Linked DNA regions of Homo sapiens: regions 1 and 3 are each linked to region 2. Evidence: promoter capture Hi-C in 16 types of primary human blood cells and fetal thymus (Javierre and others, 2016). All regions are on one chromosome and are shown on one strand. Each heading gives the region's core, a stretch centred on a gene start or on the middle of the fragment in contact. The rest is flanking DNA. Distances are from core to core; before and after follow the strand shown. Region 1 overlaps AKNA (AT-hook transcription factor). Region 2 holds the start of WHRN (whirlin). Region 3 overlaps TEX48 (testis expressed 48).

Region 1 (4,490 bases), core at 1,377-3,876, 150 kb before region 2:
AAATACCTCTTCCCAAATGAATCCCTTCTTCCCCTCTGTAGGGGCCCTCCCCGAGAACCCAGTCCCCATCATCTCTCTCCTGGATGTGGCAGCCTTCTCAGCAGTCTCTTGGTCTCCGTTCTCACCCTGCCGGTGGCCAGAGAACTCTAAAACATAAACCTGCCTACGCTACGTCCCTGCTTAAAATCCCCTTCCCTGTCCTCTCAGCCTTTGTGCACTCATGGAATATGCAGTGAATGTCTCCCCTTACCCATGGCCTTCAGGCCCTGTAGGATCTCCCATAGGTCTCTCCTCTCTACCCCTCTCTTCCTTTACTGCTCAACACTCCACCCCCTCACACTAGAGGATCTGGCTGACCGTTTAGCTCCTCCAAGGTGATGGGCACTCTCTCACCTTTAGGACTTTGCACATGCCATTCCCTCCACTGAAGATACTCTTCTATCTCTCTTCCTTCTGATGTCTGCTGAGATACCACTTCCTCCAGGAAGCCCTCCCTGAAGCCTCTAACCGGACCAGATGCTCCTTCGCTGTGCTCCCACAGTCCTTTAGTCCTCTGCCATCATGGTATTTATCACAATGGAGGGCACTACTGCCTGTTTCTTTGTCTGTTCATCCTACAAGATGGTAAGCTTTAAGAGGCCTAGGATAGAGTCTTGTCCACTATTGTATTCCCAAGGCCTGGCATACCCTAGACAAACAAGCCTCTAATTCCTCCACTGATGTCAGGGGAGGCTGCAGGGGTAGACTTACTAAACTCAGACAAGGAAGCCAAACACCAGCAGCTGGACACAACTTTGCACGTAGGCAACATGACAGCCTCATGCCTGTTCGAGCCAAAGAAACCTTGGCTGGGCCACCACCGAGCAGTCTCCCCAGCGCATCCCGGGACAGACACCCACTCCAGCAAGGGTGTGTAAGTGATCACTGGCCAAAAGCAACTAAGAGGAGGTGTGAGAGAACTGACCAAGCGATTTTACCATTTCTGTTCAACCAAGGAAGTGGAACTTTCTTAGTAGAAAAAATGCACACGAACCAAAAAAAGAAAAGAAAAACTCAGAAGGCAGTAGCTTCTTGGTCCATACAATCAATGGTCAAATTGCAGAAAAGATAGCCCTAGAAAGGACAGGCTTTTCTCGGAAAAGAGATGATGGAGAGAGAGGGCATAAGTGTCAGCACCAGAAAGGTGAATCTTTAGGTCATATTCCACTGGCTGGAGAAGTGTGTCCTCGATGTCTAGATCAATGAGGTCCCACAGAAACGCTGGGAACTGGGAGGCAGGACACCTGGGTCCGTCTGCTCCTACCACCACCATCTGTGTGAGCTGGGCAGGTCTCCACCTCCACCTGCTAACACGTCGCATCACGCTCCCGTCTGTATGATGAGCTTGAATCCCCAGGATCCAAGTGTCTAACTTACTCTCGCCCTGCCCTGGTGAGCAGGAAGCTGGGGATGGTCTCTGTTGGTCCACAGGGTAGAGGCGCAGCGGCAGGGGCGGGGGCTGGGGGTGGGCTGATTGTCTTGTTGGGAAGGGGCTGTTCAGAAATCCGTTTGTGCCCCTCAAACTCTGAGCCAGGAACCGCTAGGGAGGCAGAGAGAGAACCCAAAGTGAGTTTAAGCAGAGAGAACTTCCAAGCTCACACTTGTGCAGGTGGAATGATGGGGGAAGTGAAGAGACGGTGCCTAGTTCAAGGTCACAAAGGAAGTTCCTGATGAGGCCAATGACCCACACTGACCTCCAAACCAGAAGATCTAGATTTTGCTGGGAGTGTGGGGTGCTGAGCTGGGCCTGCCCCGCTGTTTCTAACCAGAACCCCTCCTCCCACCCACCATGACACCATCCGAGTCTTCAGGAACTTCCCCTGCAAAGAATTAATCACTTCTTCACTTGGGTTCCTCAAGACTTGATCACCTTCTCACCATGTTTTTGTGGGGCTGGCTTCAGAGCCTCCTCTGAAATTATAGTCACCTCTTTCCACGTATGCATGTTTCTGGGGAGAGCATTAATAACTTTTAACGAATCTCCCAAAGGGATGGGTGACCAAAGGTTAAAAACCACTAATCCGTCCCCTGCATTAAAAGCAATGAACTGGCCAGACATGGTGGCTCACGCCTGTAATCCCAGCACTCTGGGAGGCTGAGACGGGAGGATTGCTTGCGCCCAGAAGTTTGAGTCTAGCCTAGGTAATATAGAAAGACCCCATCTTTGCAAAAAAAAAAAAAAATTATATATATAAAAAAATTAGCTGGATGTGGAAGTATGCCCCTTTGGTCCCAGCTACTTGGGAGGCTGAAGCAGGAGGATCGCTTGGGCCAGGGAGGACAAGGCTGCAGTGAGCCATAATGGCGACACTGCACTGCAGCCTGGGTGACAGAGCAAGACCCTGTCTCAAAAACAATAAAGAAATAAATAAAAAATAAAAGCAATGAAACCCTTGGAATACTACTCAGCAATATATAAAGGAGCTAACTATTAATACACAGAATAATCTAGATAAATCTCCAGAGAATTATGCTGAGTGAAAAGCCAATCCCAAAAGGTTACATAGTATATGATTCTATTTATAGAACATTCTTGAAATGATAAAATTATAGAAATGGAGAACAGATTAGTGCTTACCAGGGGTTAAGGACAGGCTGGGGGCAGGAGGGAAGTGGGTGTGCCTATGAAAGGGTAGCATGAGGCTCCTTGTGGTGATGGAACGTTCTGTATCTTGACTGCATCAATGTCAACATCTGGCTGTGACATTGTACTACAGTTTTGCAAGATAGTCTCACTGGGGAAAACTGAGTAAAGGCACATGGGATCTCTGTGTATTATTTCTTATAACTGCATGTGAATCTACAATTATCTCCAAATAAAAAGTTTAATTAAAGGCCGGGCGTGGCGGCTCACACCTATAATCCCAGCACTTTGGGAGGCTGAGGCGGGCGGATCACTTGAGGTCAGGAGTTTGAGACTAGCCTGGCCAACATGGTGAAACCCATTTCTACTAAAAATACAAAAATTAGCTGGACGCAGTGGTGCATACCTGTAGTCCCAGCTACTCGCGAGGCTGAGGCTGGAGAATCACTTGAACCTGAGTGGTGGAGGTTGCAGTGAGCTGAGATCGTACCACTACATACCAGCCTGGGGGACAGAGTGAGACTCCATCTCAAAAAAAAAAAGTTTAATTAAAAACGTTTTTAAAATAATGAACCAGCTGGGCGTGGTGGCTCATGCCGGTAATCCCAGCACTTTGGGAGGCCGAGGCGGGCGGGTCACAAGGTCAGGAGTTCGAGACCAGCCTGACCAACATGGTGAAACCCCATATCCACTAAAAATACAAAAATTAGCCAGGCGTGGTGGCGCGTGCCTATAATCCCAGCTTCTCAGGAGGCTGAGGCAGGAGAATCTCTTGAACCCGGGAGGTGGATGTTGCAGTGAGCAGAGAGTGCACCATTGCACTCCAGCCTGGACAACAGAGCGAGACTCCATCTCAAAAAAAAAAAAAGATGAACCTTTTAGGCAAAGCTAATCTGAGGTGTCAGAAGTCAGAACAGTGGTTATGTTTGGGAAGCAGGTAGTGACTAAATGGGACTTCAGTGAGGTTCTGGGGTTCAGATCATACTGAGTTTCTTGGTGTCTGTTCACCTTGTAAAAACTCATCAATTTAAGTTCTTTTTGGTGGTTTTTAATTTCAATAAATAATTCATGTGTATTTCTAAAGGTCAAAAACTGAATCACATATAGATTTCATAGACATGGAAAGTGTTTATAGTACAATTTAGTGAAAAAAGGAGGTCGCCAAATATTCACATATAAAATGATCTTATTTTTTGTTTTTTTTTTTTATGTTTTTTGAGATGGAGTTTTGCTCTTTCGCCCAGGCTGAAGTGAAGTGGCGCAATCTCAGCTCACTGCAACCTCCGCCCCCGGGTTTAAGCCATTCTCCTGCCTCAGCCTCCTGAGTAGCTGGGATTTTAGGTGCCAGCCACCACGTCTGGCTAATTTTTGTATTTTTAGTGGAGATGGGGTTTTGCCATGTTGGCCAGGCTGGTCTTGAGCTTCTGACCTCAGGTGATCCACCCGCCTCAGCCTCCCAAAGTGTTAGGATTACAGGCGTGAGCCACCGTGCCCAGCCTCATTTCTGTTTTAAGTATAGTCACGCATCACTTAATATTGGGTATAAGCTCCCAGAAACACATTGTTATTCTGTTTCACCATGTCACAAACATCATAGATTACCCACACCTATTACATATGTGAGGTAGATGGAATAGCCCATTATTGTAGGCTACAAACCTCTACAACATTGCCTGCTGAATACTGTAGGTATCTGTAACACAATGGTAAGTATTTGTGTATCTAAACATAGAAAACAGACCATAAAAATATGGTATAAAAGATTTTAAAAATGGTACACCTGTAAAGGGTCCTTACCATGAATGGAGCTCGCAGGACTGGAAGTTGCTCTGGGTGAGTCAGTGAGTGAGTGGTGAGTGAATGTGAA
Region 2 (4,625 bases), core at 1,198-3,697:
TCCAAAGGGGTTGATGGGCTGGGAAGCAAATGAGGGAAGCCAACATCAGGTGCACAGCCAGGGAGACGGCTCAAGACTCACCTGGACACAGGCCACTGAACGGCACTCAGGAGGAAGTAGTCGTGGGCCTCTGCTGCCTAGGAGTTTCCCAGCAGCCAGCAGGCCCTCAGCTGGAGTTCAAAACACCTGCGCTGGCGGGGAGTGGGGGTTTACAGAACAGTCCAACCCCCTGAGAAGCATTTCTCTGCAGAAGCAGAGCATGTGTCCCTTTTCCCCCAAACTCTTCACTTCTTGTACGCAAAGGAGGTCGGGGGAGGGGGGAAGGGGGAAAAATGCCTGCAAAGGATCCATGAATCCACCCTGGACCCAACACTATCCATCATACTCCAACTGGTTTTCAGTAGCCCTGGGCTGTAGATCAGTAAGCACACACACTCCTTTAAAAAGCATGATTAAATCCCTGGAAGCCTGTTGTCATGAGGTTATATTTCTCAATTAACAAATGGCAGAAAGGACAAACACTCTCAGGGGCTAGGGAATTTATTTTTTACATTCAGGCAGGAGTCTCATTTCCAAAAAGGTTAGGGACCGCTTATTTGGTCCAGTGGCCCCATTTTCCAAGTGGAGAACAAGAGGTCCTGAGAGGGCAAGTGACTTGCTTCAGGATACACAACCTGGTCCAAAAACAGCAGCGTCAAGCCAGTGCACTGTGGATCACACAAACGGCCTCCTCAGGCCACTTAAGAGCTAACAAAACTGTTTCAGGGAAAAACAAAAAACAAAAAACCACAGAATGGCAGTAGCAAAGGCCACCTAATTATGCCAAGCAGAGATTTTATCTCTTTTAATGCTCATAAGAATCCACAGCCCTATTCACACATTGTAACCACACATTTGCTCAAGTATTTGTTACTATCACCTGCACTAGCTTTTAAGCCTCACAAAGGCAAGGGCCATGTCTGTGCAGAACTACGTTCCCAGTGCCTGAGAGCTATTTGCTCTGTAAGCTATACATTCCTGTTTTAAAGTATTAAAAAAAAAAAAAAAGCCCAGAAAGGCCAAGTGATTCATCTAAGGACACACAGCATGGAGTTACTGAAAAAGCTGTGCCACTCTGTCCATACTCTGCCCCAGACTCTCTCCAAACCACAGCCTTACCTTGACGGCCTCCGCGTGGGTCACCCGGGCCAGGGATTTGTCGTTGACGCGCAGAATCTGGTCCCCGACCCGCAGTCCTTCCTTCTCAGCTAGAGAGCCTGGTTCCACCAGAGACACGTAGATGCCCACGCCGTGCTCCGAGCCCCCACGGATGCTGAAGCCCAAGCCCTCGTGGGCCTTGGCACGCCGCAAACTCACCAGGCGCACCTCCCCTGGCCCCGCGCTGTCGGGGCCGCCCCAGGCGGGCTGCCTGTAGGGGGTGGTGGCGGGCAGGTAGAGGCCCTCGGCCGTGTATTGGTCGAAGAGCAGCTGGTCGGAGCGCGGGATGACCAGACGAAGCATGGGCAGCAGGCGCCGCTTGACCGGACTGTCCAGCAGCACGCGCAGGGTGCGCACCAGGTCGAAGACGTTGCGGCGCGCGTGGTAAGCGTTCAGGCAGTGGGTGAACTGCTCCCGCTCCGCCTCGCTCAGCAGCGCGGTCAGCGCTTGGTGCAGCTGGCGCACGTTGGCAGACAGTAACCGCAGCCCCGCGCCCCCGCCGCCGCCCGCCCCGGCCGCCGAGCCCAGCGAGCCGGTGGAGGACGAGCTCACCGACAGGCCGTCCAGCGGCGCGTTCATCTCCACGCCGAGGCCCGGCCGGGCTCTGAGCGCGCGGGGTGTGGGCGGTGCCGCTGTCCTCGCGGGTACTGGCGCGACAGCTGGATCCCCGGGAGCGCGGAGACGACGGCTGGAGCCTGGGTTTGGGGAGCACGGGTACAGTGGCTGGATCCTAGGGGGTCGCGGAGACCGCTGCTAGAGTCCCGGAGGCGCGAAGACGGCGGGGGTCGCGAACCTGGAATCCGGGGGACGCGGAGACGTCGGCGGGTTCCTGAGAGACACAAGAGTTGGCTGCTGGAGCCCGGAGGTGGCGGAGACTGCTGCTGGAGTCCGGGGGGCGCGGGGTCAGCAGCTACATTCTGGAGGGCACGGAGACGACGGGTGGCTGGAGTTTGGGGGCGCCGCAAAGCTGACCTGACTGCCCCGTCACACCATGCCCGGGGCTCCCCCAGCCGGGCGCCCGTTCCTCTAGGGCTGGGGGACCCCAAAGTCAGAAGTTGGGGCGGAGGGCGCTCTAGTCCCAGAGCACTCCGGGGAGTGGCAGCCGGTGAAGCGGCGCGGGCGTCCGACAAGGGGTGCGGGGCATGTCCGGGGCAGCCCCGGGATGCAGCCGCCCGGGGAGCCTCCGCGCCTCTGCGCCGCCCGGCCGCAAGCCCGGACTTTGCGAACTGTTGAGCCACCCGGGCCGAGTCTTCCAGCGAGTTCCGACGCCGTCTCGTTGCCAGCCCGGCCCGGGCCCCGCCCCCTCGTCCCTCCTCCTGCCCGCCCCCTCCCCACGGGCTCCTCAGGAAATGACGTCCCGCCCGGTGCGCCTGGCCGTTGCCTGGAGACGGGGTGAAACAGTCCAGCCCCAGGGAAGAAAGGGGTGAACGCGGCGGTAGGGGTGGGAGGAGCCCCCGCGTCCCCTACCCCGCCGGCAGAGCCGGGAGCGGGGCTCAGAAACAGCGCTCTTCGGCGGTCGCAGCGAGTGCCGACACCAGGATCGCTTTGGAGTAATTAGCCGGCTAGCTAATTCACAATTCGGGGGGAAATCGTCAAGTTTTTTGTTTGTTTGATTTTTGCTTCCAAAATACTGGGCACTTCAGTCTCGGTTTTCTTCCTTACAATGTGGCGCTCCCCTCCTGCACGCGCCCTGACATGACAAATTCCAGGGTTTATGTGGACGGTCGTTGGCCACCTACTGTGTGCGAGAGACGAATACAAGCATAGACTGCTGTCTGCCGGAGTCAACTCCGTGGCAGGGATGGATCAGGCTGGACCCCTTCCCAGTCTCCATTGCAAGGGAAAAGCCACTTTCAGAAATATTATATAAAGTGTACACCCCACGCTCGCGCACACACGTACAAATGAGCGCATATAAAACTGGTGAAATCTGAGTAAGGTGGGTGGATTTTATCAATGTCAATGTCCTGGTTGCCATCGTGTCAACATCGGGGGAAACTGGGTGAAGGGTACATGGCATGTCTATGTATTATTTCTTAGAACTGCATTTGGATCTACAATCTCAAAATAGAAATTAAAAATATACATATTTGAAGTGGCTTGGAGAAAAATCTCTTCTATGCTCTCCCATCCCTAGGCAAAATGGGAAGATACACCCAGGTGTGCCCTGGAGTCGGTCGTCACCCACCCAATCCCCCAAATAAGATTTAAGTAAAATCCTGTGCTTTTATTCTAATGGGGAGCTTCATAGTGCTACACACACACACACACACATACACACACACACCCTACCTCACACACATCCCTTCCAACCTGAGCTGCCTCTCCTAAGCTACTCTTCTATGTATTTTTCGTAAAAGTCTTCCAGAATTTCCATTGCAGAGCCAGCTGACATCTATCCAGGGTAGGGCAAGATGGAGGATTACCTGGAGGATTTGGTTTGTGGTGGACCCAGAAGGATAGATCATTCATTTATTTATTTATTTATTTATTTATTTATTTATTTATTTATTTGGTCGCTTTTCATTCAACGTTTTTGAAGCATCTGCTCTGTGCTGGGTCATGTGCTGGGTGCTGGAGACCCAGGGGAGAAAGATCAAATAAATAGAGTTAAAAACCAGTGTGATACCTGTTGTAATGGCGAGGGAGCCCAGGTTTAGGAGAGGAGAATATGGTAAGGACTTTACTGAAGAGGCGACACCTGAATGAAGAACCTGTAAGGAAAACGGACTTTCTCCTCTAGACAATGGGGAAGAGTGGAAAGGTTTTCAACACTGCTGACTTAATGCATTGAGGCTAGGAATGGAAGCTGTGTTTTCCCTAAAGATCTTCAATTCTTTACTTCCCTAAAACAGACATAGGTTAAATTAATGCCCAATAAACATATTTAACAGTGTGTCTGAGGAAGATTTTTTAAAAAATAGCCAATTAGGCTACCTTTGGCCATCTGTCTTAAAGCTCTAATCTTAGCAGTTAATGGTGTCTATCCTTATTCCTCCTTTGTAACTGTTGTTGAAGCCTTTCATGCAACTAGACCAAGATGTTTAAGGAAAAAAAATCAATCTTCTCCACCCCAAAAATGTATTAATGACATACCTCAAAATGCCACCAAGCAGGGCTTAATTGTATGCAGTTCAGGTTTCCTGCTAATGTGTTTCATGCTCAGCTCTCACTTAGTTTGTTTTAATTATAATTACTGTGATTGGTTTGATAAATGCATCCCAGGAGCTAAGATCCCCAGTCCCAACATTTTATTTCTGTGCAAAGGATGTTTTCAAGAAGGTGTTTTGCTTTAGGCAGCAGAAACCAGGCTGCATGCAGTCTTAGTAGAAAAAGAAACACTTTCTTCTGCAAACATCAGAGACCGTCTGAAATGCTGTGCTGTTGTTTAATTTCATAGAGGACGGTTTGGGAGGGCAGATGATAGA
Region 3 (4,745 bases), core at 1,469-3,968, 170 kb after region 2:
ACATGAAAAACAAAAAATCACAACGACCGGGCGCGGTGGCTCATGCCTGTAATCTCAGCACTTTGGGAGGCCGAGGCTGGCAGATCACCTGAGGTCAGGAGTTCGAGACCAGCCTGACCAACATGGAGAAACCCCGTCTCTGCTAAAAATACAAAACTAGCTGGGTGTGTGGCACATGCCTGTAATCCCAGCTACTCAGGAGGCTGAGGCAGGAGAATCGCTTGAACCCTGGAGGCGGAGGTTGTGGTGAGCCGAGATCACGCCATTGCACTCCAGCCTGGGCAAGAAGAATAAAACTCTGTCTCAAAAAAAAAAAAAGAAAAGAAAAGAAAATCACACCTAGGCACATTTTAGTCAAATGGCTAAAAAGTAAAGAACAGGCTCTTAAAACAACTGGAATAAATAAACATGAAAGAAAGAAACTGTAAACCTTTCACTTCATATTCCATGAAAATATCCTTCAATAATTAAGGCAAAATGAAGACATTATAAGATAAACAAAAATAGAGAGAATTTGTCTTTAGAAGGCCCAGGCTGTAAAAAATGCTAAGATCGAAGGAAAATGATACCAGATGGAAATTCACATTTACAGAAAGGGATGAATAGGATAAGAAATAGCAAATATGTGGGGGTAAATGCAAACTTTTTTTTTTTTTTGAGACAGAGTTTTACTCTGTCACCCAGGCTGGAGTACAGTGGCGTGATCACAGCTCACTGCAGCCTCAAACTCCTGGGCTCAAGTGATCCTCCTGCTTCAGCCTCCCCAGTAGCTGGGACTACAGGTGTGCACCACCACACCTGGCTAACTTTTGTATTTTTTGTAGAGACGTGGTCTCCCTATATAGCCCAGGCTGGCCTTGAACTCCTGGGCTCAAGTGATCCTCCCACATTGGCCTCAAAAGGTGCTGGGATTACAGGAGTGAGTCACCGCGCCTGGCCAGAAAGATTTTTTCTCTTTCTTTTCTCCAAAATTCAGTGGTTTTGCATATTCCTCAGAAGAAAAACCAAAGTTCTCACCTGGGTCTTAAGATACTCTGTAATCTAATCATCCTTCTTCCCTCCTGTCCACCCACAACCCTCATCACCAACTCTGTCTTCAATTCCTCCAATTCCCCAATTCCATTTGCCCCCCCTGCTGAGTTTTAAAACACAGCAAGCTCCCAACTCAACAATTTGTGCTTGTTTTACTCTCTGCCTGGAATTCAGTTCTCTTAGATAACAACATTCTGTCATTACCTTCAAGTCTTTGCTTCACCTTTTCTAGTGAGACTTTCTCTGTTGTATTTAACATTATAACCCCCTTGCCCAGCACCCCAGCACTTCCTAATCTCTTCCTTGTTTACTTTTCAAACATTTTCTCTTTCTTTTTTCTTCTTTCTTTCTCTCTTTTTCTTCTTTTTTTCTTTTCTTTCTTTTTTTCTCTTTTCTCTTTTTCTTTCCTTCCTTCCTTCCTTCCTTCCTTCCTTCCTTCCTTCCTTCCTTCCTTCCTTCCTTCCTTCCTTCTTTCCTTCTCTCTTGCTCTCACTCTCTTTCTTGACAGGGTCTAGCTCTATGCTCAGGCTGGAGTGCAGTGGCACAATCATGGTTCACTGCAGCCTTGAACTTCTGGGCTCCTCCTGCCTCAGCCTCCTGAGTAGCTGGGACTACAGGTGCATGCCACCATGTCCAGCAAATTCTTTTTTTTTTTTTTTTTTAAGAGAAGGGGTCTCACTGTATTGCTCAGGCTGGTCTTGAAATCAAGTGATCCTCCCATGTTGGCCTCCCAAAGTGCTGGGGTTACAGGTGTGAGTCACCGTGCCCAGCTTCATTTCCTAACACTCTACATAATTTGCTAAATTACTGTGTTGAAGGTCTGCTTCTTCCCACTAAATTAGAAGTCACATGAGGTCATGGATTTTAGCTGTTTGGTTTACTGCTCTATTCTCAGTGTCTAGAGCAGTACCTAGTGCAGTGTGGGAAGTCAATAATTGTTTGTAGAATAAAAATTGAGGGTGTTTGTAGAATAAACTAGCATTTATTCTTGTCTTGAGTAAAAGCACTTGCAGGCCCTGGGGGCAGTAGAGAGGTGGGTGGTAGTTTTTGTGCCAGGAACATCACAAGCTGTAGGACACAGCTTACCTCATTCACATGCTAAGCTTACTCTGATGGTTTCATGAGTCAATTTTAGTTCTGCTCTCTGTTTACTGGTTGGGACTATTTTTCTTCCCTGTCCACTGCAAAGCATATCTATCTTCTTCCCATGTTCCCTATTTCGTGGGATGATCCTATTATTCACTCTGTCTCTAGAGTCAGAAGCCTGCCAGCCTCCTGCCATCTGCTCGTGTTCATCAGTCTTTGAACTTTACTTTCCAAATATCTCTTCAGTCTGTCTGCCCAGCCAATCCTTTGCCATTTCCTTCACCGTAGTGTAAGCCACCATCACTTCTCACCTGGACCACTGCTTAAACTTTCTCATTGGTTTGTTTGCCTCCACCTAAAGCTAGAGTTATCTGGTAGACATGTAAATCCTATCTCTCTTCTGCCCCAACAACCCTCTGCCCCACCAAGGGGGTCCCCAAGTCTGCAGATCCAACTCCTTTTGTGATCACCACTGTTATTCTCTTCATCCTCATCTTCTCTGGGTTGCACTCACCGCCCTACAGCCATAAGAGATGCTGTATAGGCAGCTTCCCCAATCACCTTTTACTGAATGGACCCTGTTCACATCCTGTTCCCTCTACCTGGGATGTTCTCACCTCAATCCTTGAGTCATCAAACTCCAGGATTCAGCTCAGGGGCTACAGGAAGGCATGGGATAAGTTAGGAGTCCCTCCCTTGTGCTCCCACAGCACTCCCCTGCTGGCCCACCATGTTTTCCTGTACACAGCCTGTTATTGTACAGTGACTGCCTAACTCATGGTAAATGCTTAATAAACACTTGTTGAAACGTTGTCTTGTAACTGCCTCTTGTTGACAGTCTGGATACTAGTTCATGAGCTTTTTCCTTTTTCTTTTTCTTTTCTTTTTTTATTTTTTGAGACAGGGTCTCACTCTGACACCCGTGCTGGACTGTAGTGGCACCATCAGGGCTCACTCCAGCCTCATCCTCCCAGGTGCAAGCGATTTCCCTGCCTCAGCCTCCTGAGTAGCTTGGACTACAGGCTCGCACTACCATGCCCGGTTATAGTTTTTTTGTTTTTGTTTTGGTAGAGATGGGATTTTGCCGTATTGCCCAGGCTTATCTCGAATTCCTTAGCTCAAGAGATCTCCTGCCTCAGCCTCCAAAAGTGCTGGGTTATAGGCTTGAGACACTGAGCCCAGCCAAGCTTTTTTCTTTTTTTTTTCTTCATTTATTTCACATGTATTTACTGAAAACCTGCCATGTTCCAGGTACTGTTAGGTGCTGGAGATATAGCAGTGAACAAGACACAGGATAGACAAATGTCCATGGAAGCAGGGACAGTATTTTATTCACTTTTTTTTTTTTTTGAGATGGAGTCGCGCTCTGTTGCCCAGGCTGGAGTACAGTGGCGCAATCTTGTCTCACTTCGTGCTCCGCCTCCCGGGTTCACGCCATTCTCCTGCCTCAGCCTCCCGAGTAGCTGGGACTACAGGCACCTGCCACCACGCCTGGCTAATTTTTTGTATTTTTAGTAGAGACGGGGTTTCACTGTGTTAGCCAGGATGGTCTCGATCTCCTGACCTAGTGATCTGCCCATCTCGGCCTCCCAAAGTGCTGGGATTCCAGGCGTGAGCCACCGCGCCTGGCCTTTATTCACTTTTGTATCCTCAGCACTCAGCCCAGGGATGGGCACAGAATAGGTACTTTATACATATTTGTTGAATAAACACATGAACCTTCTCTGACTGTTGGAAAAAAACTATGCCAAACAGATCTCCTTCCTCCCTTCCACTAACTGATTTTTAACTTTCTGCACATAAGCTGTTCCTTGTGGTTAGATACGATGCGGGCTAGACACATACAGATGTCACCATTGTGTGGATTTTTTGGTCAAAGTGGGGGCACTCACTAGGTCCATTTAGCTCCAATCTCCAATAGTCTTTTGGATCTGCTGCCAGGTGAGGTGTTTTTGTTTGTTTGTTTGTTTTTTTGTTTTTCCCTAGACCTAGTGTCAGTGTCATGGGATTTTTTTTTTTTAACATGATTTTAGCTCTGATGTATTTCATTGAGTTCTCTTTAGTGGATTTATTTCATTTTCCTATAATTTATAAAGAAATAGAAATTTATACAGGCAGTTAGATCTTTTGTTTTGGAGATACACCATTTAGCAAATATCCTTGCCATTAATCTGCTTCGTATTCTGCTACTTGCTTTAGTTTCAGTTGTCTTCATCCACTTATAAAAATGCTTGCCTCACGGGGTTTGGCTTTGTTCCAGACTGCCTTGTGTATGTTGAATGTAGAAGGATGCACTTCATAAGAAAGGAATGGAAGCATAGCTCTGACAAGCCCCCACCATGAGTCAGCCCTGAGTGTCTGGAGTTTTACTGGAGTGGTAATTGATTTGTCTAGAAGAAATTGCTAAAACCTGGACTTGGGTCCCTCTAAACCTTTGTCAGCATGTGTTCTGTCTTGGTAAATCATAAAAGAAGGTCACTTTTTTTTTTTAGCTTATATTCGGGAGTCAGTAATTTTCAGGTTTTTGATCATGTGGCCTCTTTTAGGCTCTGCTTGGTCAAGAAATTCAAGACACTGCACAAGTAGAAACTGTTTATCAATTGTAGCGTGCTCTTTCCTGCTTGTCG

Evidence for each region. The method cuts DNA at HindIII sites, captures the fragments that hold promoters and counts their contacts. A CHiCAGO score of 5 or more calls a contact.
Region 1: a contact is called between a fragment that was not itself captured here and the fragment with the promoter of WHRN in region 2, in 4 of 17 cell types (naive CD4 T cells, naive B cells, total B cells and 1 more). The highest score is 5.5, in naive CD4 T cells.
Region 3: a contact is called between a fragment that was not itself captured here and the fragment with the promoter of WHRN in region 2, in 3 of 17 cell types (neutrophils, total B cells and naive B cells). The highest score is 8.3, in neutrophils.

The regions. Positions count from the first base shown.
Region 1 is chr9:114,349,443-114,353,932 of GRCh38, forward strand. It overlaps AKNA (AT-hook transcription factor), which reads right to left. Exons shown (of 22, transcript NM_001317950.2): 15 at 1,417-1,579. Among named protein-coding and RNA genes, the nearest start is that of ORM2, 22 kb to the left of the region's middle. The HindIII fragment of the contact is 3,998 bases long and covers 628-4,490 here.
Region 2 is chr9:114,503,026-114,507,650 of GRCh38, forward strand. It overlaps WHRN (whirlin), which reads right to left and starts at 2,448. Exons shown (of 12, transcript NM_015404.4): 1 at 1,159-2,448. The coding sequence starts at 1,776. RefSeq lists enhancers at 937-1,827, 1,828-2,718 and a silencer at 2,243-2,542. The HindIII fragment of the contact is 12,008 bases long and covers 1-4,625 here.
Region 3 is chr9:114,673,167-114,677,911 of GRCh38, forward strand. The region is part of intron 1 of TEX48 (testis expressed 48); the gene reads right to left. Among named protein-coding and RNA genes, the nearest start is that of TEX48, 6.7 kb to the right of the region's middle. The HindIII fragment of the contact is 1,170 bases long and covers 2,134-3,303 here.